Regions from separate parts of the Homo sapiens genome. Here regions 2 and 3 are each linked to region 1. The links are contacts of gene promoters, found by promoter capture Hi-C in human tissues and cell types (Jung and others, 2019). All regions are on one chromosome and are shown on one strand. Each heading gives the region's core, a stretch centred on a gene start or on the middle of the fragment in contact. The rest is flanking DNA. Distances are from core to core; before and after follow the strand shown. Region 1 holds the start of OTOR (otoraplin). Region 2 overlaps MACROD2 (mono-ADP ribosylhydrolase 2). Region 3 overlaps PCSK2 (proprotein convertase subtilisin/kexin type 2).

Region 1 (3,709 bases), core at 578-3,077:
TGAATTGAAATAGCATTGAACCATGATCCCTCTGGTAACCTTTAGATAGGATGGTTCAAAATGACCACTTTAGGACAGGTGCGGTGGCTCATGCCTGTAATCCCAGCATTCTGGGAGGCTGAGGAGGGCGGATCACTTGAGGTCAGGAGTTTGAGACCAGGCTGGCCAATATGGTGAAACCCCGTCTCTACTAAAAATACAAAAATTAGCTGGGCATGGTGGTGCACACCTGCCAGCCCAGCTACTTGGGAGGCTGAGGCAGCAGAATTGCTTGAACCCTGGAGACAGAGGGTGCAGTGAGCCGAGATTGCACCAGTGCACTCCATCCTGGGTGACAGAGCAATACTCCATCTCGGAAAAAAAAAAAAAAAAAAAAAGCAACAAAAAACAAAAAGACCACTCTGGCATTTGCTGTGCCTCAGTTTCCTTGTCTATAATGAAGGTATGAATAAAACAGACTTTCCAATCAGGACCAGCTATATAAAAGATCCTCCCTTGAAAGTCACACACACATACACACACAGCCACACACACACACTCACACACAGCCACACATACCCACACCCATACCCACACCAAAACTCTTTTACATACACACACAGATGCACTCAAACCAATACAACTCTATCACACACACACATATACCCAAAACAAAAAACCTTTTTATTATATTTTGCCTTACCCATTTATCCCTTGGGAAATTGTATTGCACAAAATTATTTAGTAAGTTAAATTCTTGTCCCTCATTTTATGAGGTTACGACTTTGGGGTTGGGGGAGAAGGCACTGCTCCGAAGTCACATCATCAACCAAGGTGGAGAAGGCATCCTGAGAGGATCTCTATTCTAGAAGCAATGGATAAGAACAGGGGAAGGGCCACCTTATGGGAGAGATGCCAGCCTCAAACACCCTATAAAAAGCAGTAACTTACTGTCTGTCTCTTCTAATAGAAAGCAACACTTGGGGCCAAAATATTTTTTTTAAATTTACTGCTATATCTTTAGTGCCCAGAACTATACCTGGCACAGTAAGTGCTCAGTAAATATTTGCTGAATAGACGGAGCTAGGGACTGGCGGTTCCACTTTGGTGCCTCTAGGAGTGCTCCTCTCCCCATGGGAAACATGCTCAGAAGCAGGAAGTTCCAGGTAACATAAACTTGTAACTTCACTCTCTTCTCTTTGACCTGTCACCCTTGAGCATTTGAGACTGAATTGCAAAAGTCTTAGAGAGAAGAGGTAGGGGAAAGATTGACCTATTTTTCCCAACCCACCCATCTCTTTCCCCACTGGTAGGGTCTAAATGGGGCATCAATTAGTATGTTAGAATTCATCTCTAGCCTGGGACAGGCATGCCTTCTAAGAATCCTATCATGAAAGATTTGTAAGCATAAGAATCTTTCATTTATCTATTACGTAAATCCAGATTTATTAATTGAATTTGTTTAAATCAAATTATTTGTGCTATAGATCTCACATTTTCAACAAATTCCTACAACTAGTATGTCTTTGCTCATAAGCTGAAGGAAAATTAGGGGTGAATTAAAACTAAAAATGGTTTGAAATTCTCATAGTCCTCTCAGCAAAGCCCTACTGATTGATACAATAGACCACTGCTAAAGCGGCTTTAACAATAGTGGACCATTTTGGATATTATCTGTGTATAGAAAGACACAGAGTTTGACTCTGTTTGGAAAATCAGACGCTAAATAGCCCCTGAAGCCGAGCAGCCTGTTATGAAAACGGAGGGGTGGTAGGCCCTTCTAATTGGCCAGGGTATTTACCCAGAGCTCTGGCTTTCACATAAAAGGCAGGAACCACTGAAGTCAGTCCCCGCTTCCAGTCAGAGTTCAAGTTAAAACAGAAAAAAGGAAGATGGCAAGAATATTGTTACTTTTCCTCCCGGGTCTTGTGGCTGTATGTGCTGTGCATGGAATATTTATGGACCGTCTAGCTTCCAAGAAGCTCTGTGCAGATGATGAGTGTGTCTGTAAGGACTTTTTTATGCTTTTCATTATCTTTCTATTACATAATTGAAAATATATCCACTAATAGCATAAAATCGAATTATACTTTGAAGTGAATCTTCTCCAATGTGTATGTTATCAGCTTTGTTTCTTCTGGTCTGCATGTTTGGTATCTTACTACGGAGAATTCACTTGGCTGAGTTTTGTTGCAGCTTTAATATCTTGGCTGTCTTCTTTCTCTTGGATAGACACCAGCTATGAACTGGGAATTATCAGTCACTCTGATTTTCTAGTTTTTCTAATATACATTGCCTTTTACTGTTATAAAATTCAGGAGCCTAAAATGTAATCATTTAAATTTTTTTTCTTCCAGATACTATTTCTCTGGCTAGTGCTCAAGAAGATTATAATGCCCCGGACTGTAGATTCATTAACGTTAAAAAAGGGCAGCAGATCTATGTGTACTCAAAGCTGGTAAAAGAAAATGGAGCTGGAGAATTTTGGGCTGGCAGTGTAAGATAATTTAAACACCTATTGACGAATATTGCTCTTAACCTTTCCTTGATTACCTACCTTCAACCTATTTTAATGCTTAATACTAGTTGTTAAGAACCATGTAGTGATTGTAGATGGAAATGCAAAAATTCAGGTATATTTGCTATTGCATTTTAAAGAAAGAAAGATCAATTTCGTAACAAAACCAAATGTAGGTTAATGTGATATTTTGGTAAAAAAAGAGTCAAATACATGGGGGCTTAAACATCCCAAAGAATTTGAATCTTATCCGAAAACGTCTGAGAAGATTTGCCAAGTAGAAGGCATGTGTGTTGGCAGTGAGTCTAAGTATCAATATTCTTTTAGGAAACTTTGCACCCTAATTAATTCGAAAGAATCAGCGTTCTTCAGTTAAAATATACAGGGGCGGTCCCTGGGGAGGGATGAAGCAGGGATGATTTTCTGTCCTCATCTGCAACCCTAAAGGTAAGTTCTAAATTAATGAAGGATTAAATTTAAAGCCATTTAAGTCTGTTCATTTGAATTGTTGAAAACTGAGAAATTTGCATCATTTAAAATAAGTGTCTACAGTACTTTAAAAAAATGTACTGTCTTTATATATTTATTTATGGGTTCAAAAAAGATTTCAGGCAACTCACAAGATTGCGTAAAATAAAGTCATGCTAAAGTAGCGAAATAAGACTGGGCCACTAAACAGTAGATGCACAATTCCTGCGGGTTAACTTAGTGCTCCAAGTAAACTTCGGATTTGCCGCAGCGCCCCCTGGACCCCGGAGTGAAAGGGAGGTATTGGCAGCTATGATTCTCACTATCAGCAAAGAGGACGCCTGCGAGTTTCTCAGAAGACACTCAGCATCAGCTTTTTCCTGATTGCTATTCTTCTGGGCACTTAGGTTTATGGTGATGGCCAGGACGAGATGGGAGTCGTGGGTTATTTCCCCAGGAACTTGGTCAAGGAACAGCGTGTGTACCAGGAAGCTACCAAGGAAGTTCCCACCACGGTAAGCATCTCAAAAGTGACTAGACAAGGACTCAGATCTTGGGGCAATGTAGGCCGGTGTTAAAAATGCATCATGCAACTTACAAGTTGTATAGAACAAAGCCTCCAACTTTCAGTGGCGACTTTTCTGAGATAATGAGGTTTGGGGGACCATTTATAACTACTGTCAAAGTTGAAAGATGAGTAAACTTTCTCTATACCACCCCCTTTTGTTTTATTTCAGTTTACTA
Region 2 (3,709 bases), core at 380-2,879, 780 kb before region 1:
ACATACTTATTGTGCATTTTAAAAGGTTCAGAGAATCTTGAGATTCTCTGATATGGTTTGGCTGTGTCCCCACCCAAATCTCATCTTGAATTGTAGCTCCCATAATCCCCACGTGTTGTGGGAGGGACCCTGTAGGAGGTAATTGAATCACAGGGGTGGGCGTTCCCATGCTGTTCTCATGATAGTGAAGAAGTCTCATGAGATCTGATCGTTTTATAAAGGGGAGTTTCCCTGCACACACTCTCTTGCCTGCCACCATGTAAGACATGCGGTTGCACCTCCCTTGCCTTCTGCTGTGATTATGAGGCCTCCCTAGCCATGTGGAACTGTGAGTCCATTAAACCTCTTTTTCTTTATAAATTACCTAGTCTTGGGTATTTCTTCATAGCAGCATGAAAATAGACTAATACATTCTCTAAGTTCAAGATTCCTCCTCTATGATATCACCCACTGAGTGTGCAGGAATCAGCTGGTCCACCTATGGCACCATGTGGGAATCAGGACTCAGAGAACAGACACTAATACTCTGGTTACTGTGATTTCTCTGAATAATAAACTGTCCTTTATCTTTGACCCAGAAGTCTTTGTCTTCTGTCAGCATCCATGGAACTGTGGCTCAAGCAGGGTAAAATCTCAGAGTCTTCATAGTTCTTGACAGGAAGCAGGAAAGTATGATGCACAGGAAAAGAAAAGTTGATAAATGGAACTCAACCCATAAATGATGCAGATGATAGAATTAATATGAAAGGGCATGTTAAAAGTTGTTATAACTCTGTTCCACATATTTACAAAATTAAAATTAGGACTGACCATGTTAATTCGAGACAAAGAAGTTATAGAAAGACCCAAATTGAATTTCAAGGAATTCAAAACACAGTGCCTGAATTAAAAATTATACTTGATGAGAACAGTGGCAGATTAGATACTATAGAAGAAAAGATTAATGAACTTGAAGATGAAGCAATAGAAGCTATCCAAATGAAAACAGAATAAGTGACTGAGGGGAAAAAAAAAGAGCATCCATGAGCTATGAGACATCTTGAAGGGTGGTTCTAATTACAATATAAATGAATGTGAATCTCTGAGGGTGAATGTGGGAGAAAGGGACAGAAAAAATATTTGAAGTAAAAGTGATTAAAATGTTTCAATGTGATGAAATTATCAACCCACATATGCAAGAAGTTCTATGACCCCAAAGCATAAGAAACATAATGAAAATTACACCTAAGTACATCATAATCAATTTATTCAACACCAGCAATAAAGAGAAAAATCACAAAAACAAGCAGAGGAAAATGACAAGTTACATATAGAAGACAAAGATAAAGATAAATCAGGCCAGGCACAGTGGCTTACGCCAGTAATCCCAGCACTTTGGAAGGCTGAGTTGGGCAGATCACTTGAGGTCAGGAGTTCGAGACCAGCCTGGCCAACATGGTGAAACCCCATCTCTACTAAAAATACAAAAATTAGCAAGGCACGGTGGTGGGCACCTGTAATCCCAGCTACTTGGGAGGCTGAGTCAGGAGAATCACTTGAATCCAGGAGGCAGAGGTTGCAATGAGCCTCCTGAGCTGAGACAGCACCATTGCACTCCAGCCTGAGTGACAGAGCAAGACTCTGTCAAAAAAGAAAAAAAAAAGATAAATAAAAGGTCCCAATGGAAACTAGAAACTACAATGACATGCAAAAACATGATGAATCTCACAAATGTAATATTAGAGAAGGTATGAAAGCATATATTATTTATTATATAATCTCATATATCAAGTTCAAAAAGCAGGAAAAAAATTAACATTTAGAAAGGCTTGTTTAGGTGATAAAATGATAAAGAAGACCTAGGTACTGATCACTGTGACAGTCAGGGTTTTGATTAAACTTTGGTGATTGGAGAGGAGATACTGCCGGGAGGGGGCCATGAGAGGGCTGCCTGGCTGGATGGTTATCATAAAAATATATAGTTTCTGTATTTGCATTTGGTTATTTAATTGATATCTCTATATTTTGTCTGTGTTTCTATATATTTGTCGCAATTTTATAAAATTGTCTAAAAGAGGAAGAAAGAAAAAGAGGAAATGAGGAAGGGAATGAAGAAAGGAGGAAAGAAAAGAAGCATCAGTGGCAGAGGTTGTAAAACTAGATTATAGCTAGAAGAAGGAAGAGTTGCACATTAGCCTGACTCCATAAATACCACTCAAAAACTAAAAATCCCAGTGTTATGGATTCTGACAATATGTTACCTTTCAGAATATCTCTGAAAAATTGTACAATAATCACAAATAGAATTAAATAATAATAAAATTAAAAGAAGATACCTTACTTTCTAAATTTCCCAAAGAGATCACATGACAGTATACTCAGCAATGCAAATAATAACAATAACTAGCAGTGTAACAAAAGCCTCATGTATCAAATAAGATGACAGAAACACAAGCAAATGCTTATAACAGTAAGTGTAATTAGGTTACTTTAATAAGTGTAAAAGCCACTCAGATTGACTTAAACTCAATAAAAAGGTAAAGCTTTAAAAGTATAAAGTTAGAAAAATGTATATTTGAGAAAGGAGCATCAAAAGAAAACATGAAGAACTACTTCTATTTGAACCAATCTATTCGGTTAGAAGTCTAGCAAAAAAATCTCCAGTGACAAAGAGTTGGTTATTTGATATTGATAACAATTTAAATTCCTGATGAAATATAATAGTGATGGGGCTTTTTGTGTCAGATGATATGGCAAGATACAATACAAATAAAAACCTGTTGAAAATGCAATGAGGAGTTCCCAGATACAATATTATTAGTCAATGACAGAACAAATAGACTACGGATGACATGGACTGTTTGAAAAATGTACTTAGCAGGGTAGTCCTTGCTATAGGAATAGACAGGCTGATCAATGAAACAGATGAAAGAGTTCAGAAACAGACCCAAGTAGATCTGGGATTTCAGTACATATTCTGGCCGACATTTCAAAGACAGATGACTCAATCAATGGCATTAAAACAACTAGTTGGCCATTTGGGAAAATAAACTGAATCCCAACCTCATTCCTTTCACCAACATAAATTCCAGAAGGAGCAGAGATGAAACATAGAAATGAAACTATAAAAATACTAGAGTAAAAGAACCAAAGGTTATTATTCAGCACTAAAAAGAAATGAGCTATCAAACCATGAAAAGACATGTAGGAAACTTAAATGCATATTACTAAGTGCAAAAAGCCAATGTGAAAAGGCTACATATTGTATGAATCCAATTATATGACATTCTGGAAAGGCAAAACCATGGACACAATGAAAAGATCAGTGGTGGCCAGGAGTTGTGGGGGTGGGGAGGGATGAATAGGAGGAGTACAGAGGATCTTTAGGGCATTGAAAATACTCTGTATAATGCAGTAATGGTAGATACATTTCATTATACATTGCCAAAACCCATAGAATGTACAGTTCCAAGAGTGAACCTTAATGGAAGTTATAGACTTCAGTAGGAGTTACATGGGATATCTCTGTACCATCCTCTCAATTTTGCTGTAAACCTAAAACCACTCTACAAAAATAGTATTTTTAAAAAACAACAAAATAAAACAATTACAGGCTGTTTTTTTAACTGTGAGCACATACTTGCAGACACAGGATGGTATGCATATGTTATGAAATGCAGGCATACACATATCTGTAATGTGTGTGCATATGTCAGTATATTGCATAAAA
Region 3 (3,709 bases), core at 635-3,134, 720 kb after region 1:
AGGCAGCCCACCATAGGTCAGCATCCTCCCACAGACCAGCATCCTGCTATAGACGGGCAGCCCACCATAGGTCAGCATCCTCCCAAGGGCCAGCATCCTCCCATGGACAAGCATCTTCCCATGAGTGAGCATCCTCATTGTTTACTCACTGAACCCCTAGAAAGTGGCACCAAGTGGATTACTGCCAAGCTGAGTATTTTTTTTCCATGAAACAGTCCATGATTTAAGAAGGCCTCACTCTAATCAGCACCACATGGAAAAAATAAAGCTTCAGCCCAAGCCCTATAATAATCTAAAAACACAGAGCTGCCCAAGTCCCAAGTGATGTTACAAATGTCCTATAATAAAAATAGCTACTCTGCACAGTTCCTCACCATTTTCCAAAGCTTCTGTGTCCACACATCATTTCTGTTCACTCCCGTATCCCTCCTCTTGGCAGGACAGACTTCTCTGAGCTCTAAACAAGTTGATTGACACAGTCAAGCCCACAGAGGCTGTAAATGTGAGACTGGAAGTCACTTTTATTGAGTGCCAACTGCATGCTATGTGCTTTCATACACGTAAGCTTCACAGCCACCCTATTGTTGAGGGTGTGCCTTATACTCGCACAGTCGAGGTGGGAGCAGGGGTGAATATTTTGCAGCCTTAACAACAAACTGGTCCCATGCTGGGTGTCAGGGAGAAACACCAACTAGGTGTGGTATATGCTAGGCCCATTTACATTACTGTATTTAATCCTTGTAAGCCCAGGAGGTGTGTCCTATCATTATTACTTTTTATACACAAGGAAGCTGAGATCCAGAAAGGATAAAAAAAAAAAAATGTGCTCAGAGTCACAAAGGGCAGAGCAGGACTTGAAGCAAAGCCCATCTAAACCCAAACCCCAGGCTCTTTTCACTACATGACCTTGACCTTAATCAGCTCCCGTGCATACAGGTCCTACATTAGGCCGTATGTGAGAGCAGCCCTACTGTGAGCTCACAGTGCCATTACTGATGACAGGAGGTTGGGAAAGGTCAAGGGCATGCTAAATGTCATCCAGCTACTAAGCAGCCAAACTGGGATCTGAGCCCAGTCACTTTGACCCCTCACGGTGGGCTCTCAGGTATCTCAGTGACTCCCCCTGGAGAAGGTGAGGCTTGGGTAGGGGAGGGAGTTTCAGTAAACATTCCCCTGGGGATTCTGAAACACCCACCTAGTGGGTGCTCCCATCTCCCAAACCCCATCACTGGCATTCCAGAGGCCCTTTTCACTGGTCTACAATGCCAAGGTCTGCCGTGTCTTTTGGGAATGAACAAAGAGACAAGACTGGGAACCACTGTCCAAATGGGGGATTTAAGGCTAAACCCTACTCATCATAACTAACTTTACCCAAAGTCAACATGAAATGGGCGTTGACAACTGTTTCCCTTGTTAGAGTTCAGAATAATTTCTTGAGAAATTTGGAAGTGCAGTGACTTTCTGCAGTGGTGAAAATGTTCTGCACTGTCCAATACAATAGCTTGTGGCTATTGAGTGCTAGAAAGTGGATGACCGTGATTAAGAAACAAGAGTTTTCATTTTATTTCATTCTCATTAATTTAAATTTAAATAGCAACATGTGGCTGGTGGCTACCATCTTGGACAGCCATGTCTAAGGCACATCTGGTAGTTACATCTTAGCAGGAGGGATGCTGAATTGTGCAAACCGAATGGGAAGTGGAGATTTAATAACATAAACTCTATGAAGGGGTGTCAAGAAGATGAGACTGCAAGAAAGGCTTGCTGGTCCATTTTATAGCCTCATGCCTTCCCCCAGCACGACATCCAATTGCAGCATCCTAGAAGCCTAAAGGCAGCCTTGGGAGGGTGCTAGTAAGAACTGCTGCTAAGAACTTCTCTCGGAAAGTCACTGGGATAGCACTTTATTCCACTATCTCATTTAATCACAGGAGGTTGGCATCCCTAGTCTTAATTTAGGTGAGAAAACAGGATCAGACAAATAAAGCAAACGGCCTTAACTCCAATGTCCTTATCCATTCCACAAGGCCCTGGGGCCTGGTACCTCATTCCCTTATTGCAAAAGGAGAAAGACTTACGATGTCTGTGCCTTTACAGACACTCTGCAAGCAGGGAGTGGGGGCTGGAATGTCCCTCACAGGCAGTGCAACTGGCACGATATCTACACTTACTTGCATATAAGCAATATTTACAATTAACAAAAAGGCAGCACCGTTGCAGTATTTAGGGGAAGAGTTAGCTTGGAATGTACTGCGGCCCTCTTAGTCAAGCTACGTGTCAATACCAGGCTATATTTTCTGAGATTGCACTGGACAAGCCAGACGGACTTCTAATGATCGTCAAGCACCATATGATTATGAGAGAGGGCAGGAGGGGAGCACCGCGGGAGAGAAGGAGAGAGAGGGAATGAGGGCGTATGCTGAGATGAACGGCAGTTTATCTCCCAGTTTCTGAATATGCTTAGCATTCCATCATAATCTGCATACATGTGGAATTTAAGGCCAGAGAGAACACTGGAAATAATGTTATCCAAGTCCCTGTAAGGAATCTGAGGTCCGGAGATGTGATCATCCCAACATCTCACAACTATCCAGGAACTTTATGCAAGATCAATGCAGTGTTTTCAATGAAGAGAAATGGGAAAGCACTATATTTCAGCACTAACTCAGTTGGGGCCTCCCAATGGACTGGGCCCTCGTCTGTCATATTCATGGTGTAACCCTAGTGCCTACAATAGTGCTGGGCATATAGTAGACAGGTGATAAATATTTTTTAAATGAATGAGGGAATGAAAATATTCAGCCAGCAGCAGCCGGACACAAGGGAAATGTCTGACTGCTGGCAATAGGACCGGCGGGCCAGCAAGGCAAATGTGGGAAGGAGGCTCTGCCTTGGTTGGAAGGGCTCTGCCTCCTCTCAGTGCCCTCCGGTCCCTCGTCCACCCCCACACCAGAACTTGTTCTCAGATGCAGATGAGTTAGGTCTAGGGCAAATACACTTGTTGAAGAATGCAGAGGCTCCACAGGGAGATTTGGAGAGCAGCCCCAGGGCTGGCTGTGCCGCTTGACAGAGGAGGCCCTTGTGACCACGAAGCACACTCGAGGAGCGGTGGGGTACAGGAATCAACAGCCGTGGCAATCGCCACTCTCCATAATGTGCAGGGCTGCACAGAAACAGCTTCCAAGGTGGAGTGAGTGGTGATTGTCAGGTTTGTGGGTTTCCTTGGCATTAATCTTCCCGGAGATGGAGTCAATTTGAAAAGCAATTTTCTAAAGAGGCTTTATCAAGAGAGTCAGTGAAGGATGCTCAGCTACAATCAAAGGGGAAAATACACCTGGCTGTGACCAGCTGCACCAGCTGTGTGTAGAATGAGCAGAGCCAGCCCAGGCCGGCCCCATCAGCCAGCTGGGAGTGACCTGTCTAACACAGCTGCCCCCAGCCCCTCTGGGCACCCTGAGGGGACTGTTCACTGAGCTCCTTTAAGGCTGTGCCAAAATATGTGATCCAGCTCTGAAGTTTAAGTGAATTTGGAAATAAATGTTAAAACCTGGTATCAATGCCGGAAGCAGCATGGGAGTGAGAGGTCAGCGTGTGCTCGGCCCTGTGCCACCTGGGGGACTGTGGACCAGCACTCCCGAGCTGCAGAGGCTTCCTGCACAAGTTCATGCCCACCTGACTCTGCTACAGGGGGAGGAGAAAACCTCACCAT

What was found. The method cuts DNA at HindIII sites, captures the fragments that hold promoters and counts their contacts. A contact is called where the count stands out against the background at its distance.
Region 2: a fragment that was not itself captured here is called in contact with the fragment with the promoter of OTOR in region 1 in 1 of the 25 tissues and cell types used here (lymphoblastoid cells).
Region 3: a contact is called between a fragment that was not itself captured here and the fragment with the promoter of OTOR in region 1, in 1 of the 25 tissues and cell types used here (IMR-90 fibroblasts).

Annotation. Positions count from the first base shown.
Region 1 is chr20:16,746,531-16,750,239 of GRCh38, forward strand. OTOR (otoraplin) reads left to right here and starts at 1,828. Exons shown (of 4, transcript NM_020157.4): 1 at 1,828-1,986; 2 at 2,337-2,476; 3 at 3,373-3,480. The coding sequence starts at 1,872. The HindIII fragment of the contact is 9,309 bases long and covers 1-3,709 here.
Region 2 is chr20:15,971,192-15,974,900 of GRCh38, forward strand. The region is part of intron 13 of MACROD2 (mono-ADP ribosylhydrolase 2); the gene reads left to right. All of the region lies in intron 1 of LOC613266 (a long non-coding RNA gene), which reads right to left. Among named protein-coding and RNA genes, the nearest start is that of KIF16B, 600 kb to the right of the region's middle. The HindIII fragment of the contact is 4,573 bases long and covers 1-3,709 here.
Region 3 is chr20:17,468,739-17,472,447 of GRCh38, forward strand. All of the region lies in intron 11 of PCSK2 (proprotein convertase subtilisin/kexin type 2), which reads left to right. Among named protein-coding and RNA genes, the nearest start is that of BFSP1, 61 kb to the right of the region's middle. The HindIII fragment of the contact is 7,308 bases long and covers 1-3,709 here.